Linked DNA regions of Homo sapiens: region 1 is linked to region 2. The links are contacts of gene promoters, found by promoter capture Hi-C in human tissues and cell types (Jung and others, 2019). All regions are on one chromosome and are shown on one strand. The core of a region is centred on a gene start or on the middle of the fragment in contact, and the rest is flanking DNA. Distances in the headings are between cores, read along the strand shown.

Region 1 (2,700 bases), core at 80-2,579, 580 kb after region 2:
CCTATGACAATCACCTAAAGAAGTTTTAAAAAAATACTCAGGTGCAGGCCAAACCCTCAGAGATTTTGATTCAGTTAGTCTGGGTTGAGGCTGGGAAAATGGTAGTCTTTAAAAGCTCCCCAGGTGATTCTAGAGTGCCACCAACGTTGGGACCACATCACTACATGGCAGTGTTTAAGAACACAGGCTCTTGTCTCCACAACTTACCAGAAAGCAGGAGATCTTGGGCAAGCTTAGTTGTTGTTGTCATTGTTGTTTTCAGACAAAGTCTTGCTCTTGTCCAGGCTGGAGTGCAATAGCGTGATCTCGGCTCACTGCAACCTCCGCATCCCGGGTTCAAGCGATTCTCCTGCCTCGGCCTCCTGAGTAGCTGGGATTACAGGTGTGCACCACCACGCCCAGCTAATTTTTATATTTTTTAAGTAGAGATGGGGTTTCATCATGTTGGCCAGGCTGGTCTCGAACTCCTGACCTCAGGTGATCCACCCACCTTGGCCTCCCAAAGGGCTGGGATTACAGGCACGAGCTACTGCGCCCAGCCAGTTACTTAGTATTTTTAAGCCTTTGGTTTTCTCACCTATAAAATGGGGATGATAATAGTTACCCCATTGATTAGTAATTATGATATAATATTTATTATAAAACAGTCAAACAAAAAGGAAAAATATAAGGTATATGTATGGTTTGAATAACCCCTTGAAAACAAATTTGATTGCTGTTGGCAAAAATATCTGTTTAATTGCAATTAAACAGTTTAAGAGGTAAAACCTTTATTTTTTATTTATTTGAGATGGGGGACTCACTCCGTTGACCAGGCTGGAGTGCAATGGTGTAGTCATGGCTCATTGCAGCCTTGACCTCCCAGGTTCAAGCAATCCTCCCATCTCAGCCTCCCAACTGAGACTGGGACCACAGATGCACATCACCATACCTGGCTAATTTTCACATTTCTTTTTTGCAGAGACAGGGTCTTGCTACGTTGCTCAGGATGGTCTCATAGAGATAGGTGATTAAGAGGTGATTAAAAGGTGATTAAGTTATGGCTCCACCTTCATAAATAGATTAATGCTGTTACCATGGGAGTGGTCTATTTGTCACAGGAATAGGCTCCTGATAAAAGGATAAATTCAGGCCCCATCTTTCTCTTTGTCTCACAGACTCTCTTGCCCTTCTGCCGTGGGATAATGCAACACAAGGCCCTCGCTGGATGCTGGTGCCATGCTCTTGCTCTTCCCAGCCTCCAGAACCATGAACCAAATAAATTTCTTTTCTTTATTAACTACCCAGCCTGTGGTATCCTTTTATAGCAGCAGAAAACAGATGTAGTTAGTATAGTATATAAGGATTTGAGCACTGTTTCTGACACAGAGTAAGCATTCAATACATAGCAGCTATCATTAATACACTGCAGTGACTCAGGAAAGAGATGATAAGGATTGGAACTAAGTCAGAGGCAGGGGAGATTGCAAGAAGATTATGCATTATCCAGATATTTCAAGAGAGTAGGTGAGGAAAAGAGAATAATTGAAGAGAACTCCATGATTTCAAGCTTGAACAACTCGAGAGATGTTGATGCCATCACTGAGTTTGGAGAAACAGGGATAGGATATAAAGCAAGGGGATAAGAAGTAAGTATTGGGATGGAGAAAATAAGTTGGATTAGATGTACTGAGTTGGAGGTACCTGTGGGTCATCGGGTGGAGACATCCAGCAGGAAGTTGGCATGATGGTCTGAGCTCAAGAAAGAGGTCTGGGCTGGAGGTATTTTTTTGGGGAGCCATGAACATATGAGTGGAAAGTTGAAGCTATAAAAGTAGATAATGGGCTGGGCGTAGTGGCTCATGCCTGTAATCCCAGCACTTTGGGAGGCTGAGGGGATCACCTGAGGTTGGGAGTTCAAGACCAGCCTGACCAACATGGAGAAACCCCGTCTCCACTAAAAATACAAAATTAGCTGAGCATGGTGGTGCATGCCTGTAATCCAAGCTACTCGGGAGGCTGAGGCAGAAGAATCGCTTGAACCTGGGAGGCAGAGGTTGTGGTGAGCCAAGATTGTACCATTGCGCTCCAGCCTGGGCAACAGAAGTGAAACTCTGTCTCAAAAGAAACCAAAAAAGTAGATGTTTATCAAAGAGAGTCTATTAGTGAGAATAGATGAAGGTTGAGTTTAGAACATGGGAAATGTCCAAATATATGGGGTGGATGGAAGGAAAAGGAATCTGCCCCCAGGAATAAGGTAGGGGATAGAAAGAATAGCAGGAATTATAAGGAAAACTAAGAAACAACTATTATCCACAGGAAAGGAAATAAGCCTGGGATAGAAAAAAAGTCTAGTTGGGAGCATTGAGCAAAATAACAAAATTTTTTTACTTAGTCACTTTGATTCAATTTAATAGGATGCTCTTAAAAGACTTTAAAGTTTTTTTCATTTTGCCCACTGCTTCCAAAGGCCATCTTTTCATTCCATATCTAGATGGCAGATACTGGAGCAGAAGCAGTGGCAAAAAGCCTCAGTCACATCTTGCCCTGCGGTAGTCCTGTGCAGGGATGGCATGAATAACTGTAGGAGGCAAAGGAGCAAGCATACCCTTTATACCCTGAGACCCTTGCTCAAAGCTGTCAGTATCTAGCCTGGGAAAGGCTTTTGCTGCCCATCATGCCTCTCAGGCTTTTTGGTACTCAAAGAACCTAGATGACCCT
Region 2 (2,700 bases), core at 66-2,565:
TTCCCTTTGTAATTACACTAGCCAGATCCCCTCCTTCACAATATTCCATTACAATGTACAGTGTTGTATTGGTCCGGTCAATAATCCGATCATAGTAACGAACGATGTTTGGATGTTTCAGTTCACGAAGCAAATTCACTTCAGAAACAAGCATCTGTTTCTCAGCTTCTGTCATGGAGCCATAGTCAAGTTCTTTCCAAACTAATATCTGAAATAAGAATTTCCAAGGTATGAATGAACTCATTATGCTCAAAAACAAAGAATGAAAGTTCCAAGATTTAACAAATTACCTCCCTTTTAATTATATCCTACAATCAAGGTCATTATCTAATTTAGTTCAATGAACTTAAGGAGCTGTGAGTTTACTTCCATAATCTTCCTCCAGTTCTAAGCAGTAAATGTATGTTGTGGGGAGACAAACGGGAATGAGGCACATGAGGACTCCCCCAACCCCTACCCTCAGTTGGTTAGTGGGAAGTTGGCTAAAAGGTACTATAGTCAAAATTGGGGTGAAGGTGGTCAAAGTCCCTGCCCCATTCCACCCCAGTCGTGTTTTCCCAGGATGAGACACCTTGGTAAAGATCCCTCCATCAGCAGCCAGGCAGTTTCCTGTCCAATGTTACTTTCTGTAAAAGTTCTACCTATATACATTGGGAAATATGAATCCAATAATCCTAATAATGGATATTTTGAGGGAGTCTGACTGCAGATACAAAGCTTCGGGTTCTGGTAGTCCTGCCCCTTTCTTGTGCCTGAGAGGGCCACTCTTAGAGCTCTAAAAACAGCTCAGGAATTAGTTACCTGTCACCAATGGAAGGTCCTTAGCAAGCCAAAGCAGGAGAAAGAGAGAAATGGGGAGAGAAACGGGAAAAGATGGAAATACATATATCAAAAGAAGCGGTCTCCCATCCTTTAAGCCACCCAGGACAGGCTGTCAGATGCAGACCCAGGAAAGACGGTTTAGTCTTCCGGGCACCCATTTCCTCAGCCCTGTCGGTTCCCTTCGGTGGCGCAGGGCGCTCGCCCCGAGGCGACGAAACCTAAGCAGGGGCAGGCGCAGGGTAGGTCCCACGCTCACCTTGCCATCACTCTTCCTCCGGATCTTCTGGCAGCGGCCGTAGGAGCCTGTGCCAATGGTGTACAACACTTCATAGTCCTCAGCCCGGGAAGGCATGGCCGGCCAGTCGCCAGAGTCGCGCTGCCTCACGCAGGTTGCGCCGCCAAGTGCGGAGCTCCAGGGACCAGGAACTCCAGGGACCTGGATGGAGAAGCCCCCGAGCAGCACTGACCCGCCACCCCTGCCTTGGGCCCCGTTTAACCGTCGCGGGCCCTGATCTCGCAGTCTATTGGCAGGCGGTGGGCCGCTTCGCCTCTCTCATTGGCTAAGAAGAACACAACAATACCCTAGGCATTTTGGGAAAAGTGTCACTAGGCAACCGCGTCGGCGTCTGCTTTTAACCTGTGGGAGAACCCGGCGAGCTAAGCCAAACGGAGGGCGGGAGAGAGGAAGCGGCAGCTGGCGCCTCTCGGCAACTCTAACCCTCTGATAGAGATCGCCAAGGTAACCGAGATCTAAGGTCCTCCCCTCAGGCTTCTTTGCACACCGCTTCCACCAGATGCCTTCTGACCTTTGCACTCTGGCCCCTCACACTACCTACTCTCCCCGGCACACGCATTCCTCGCTCAGGTTCCAGTACCCTGAACCTGGGTGGGGTCACGTTGAGGATATGCTGAGAGCTGAATACAAATTAGAAATACAGACTCCCGGGTGGGCGCGGTGACTCACGCTCGCCCGTAACCCTAGCACTTTGGGAAGCCGAGGTGGGTGGGTCGCTTGAGCCCAGGAGTTCAGACCAGCCTGGGCAACAGGGCAAACCTCGTCTCTACTGAAAATACGAAAATTAGGCCGGGCGCTGTGGCTCACGCCTATAATCCTAGCACTTTGGGAGGCCGAGGCGGGCGGATTGCTCGAGGCCAAGAGTTCAAGACCAGCCTGGCCAACATGGCGAAACCCCGTCTCTACTAAAAATGAAAAAAAAAAAAAAAAAAGTAACAGAGCATGGGGTTGCAGGCCTGTAATCCCAGCTTCTTGGGAGGCTGAGGCATGAGGAATTGCTTGAACCTGGGAGGCAGAGGTTACAGTGAGCCGTGCGCCACTGCACTCCAGCCTGGGCGACAGAGTGACACCCAGTCTCCAAAAAAAAAAAAAAAAGGAGAAATACTGTCGCTCTCCTACCAAGTACTTTACACGTCTTGTCCCGTTTATGTGTGCCAAATACACAATTAACCCTATCGACAATACTTCATTGAACACAGATTCTCTTTTACGCACCCACACACCAACGTTCTCAGCTTACCCAGCCAAATGAACAGCCCCATGTTTACCAGGGAAGGAGGACTTAGAGGCCTCCATCCAGGGCTTGTTAGAGGAATATGTAAATTACCAGAAAGCTAATAATTTGGAAATGCATGAACAGGCCAGTTTTCTTTAAATATCTGTTCAGCAAAGGATTAAAAGACACCTGATTTTCTATTAATAAGAATTTAAAAGCTCTTTATGTAAAAATAAGGGACTTATTACATGCCCTGAATATAACATAAGATAATTGGAATTGCCAACCAGGAGAATTTTTAAATTAACATTCAAGGGCACTGTCTTACCTCAGGGGAATAGGACCAATTTAGGTTTCAAAAGTTATG

The links. Contacts are between HindIII fragments. The study calls those that stand out against the background at their distance.
Region 1: a fragment that was not itself captured here is called in contact with the fragment with the promoter of NEK2 in region 2 in 1 of the 25 tissues and cell types used here (stomach).

Annotation. Positions count from the first base shown.
Region 1 is chr1:212,249,490-212,252,189 of GRCh38, forward strand. All of the region lies in intron 1 of LINC02608 (long intergenic non-protein coding RNA 2608), which reads right to left. Among named protein-coding and RNA genes, the nearest start is that of LINC02608, 34 kb to the right of the region's middle. The HindIII fragment of the contact is 4,692 bases long and covers 1-2,700 here.
Region 2 is chr1:211,674,306-211,677,005 of GRCh38, forward strand. NEK2 (NIMA related kinase 2) reads right to left here and starts at 1,316. Exons shown (of 8, transcript NM_002497.4): 1 at 1,079-1,316; 2 at 1-208. The coding sequence starts at 1,174. It overlaps NEK2-DT (NEK2 divergent transcript), which reads left to right and starts at 1,457. Exons shown (of 4, transcript NR_148994.1): 1 at 1,457-1,561. RefSeq lists enhancers at 1,020-1,279, 1,302-1,596. The HindIII fragment of the contact is 6,262 bases long and covers 1-2,700 here.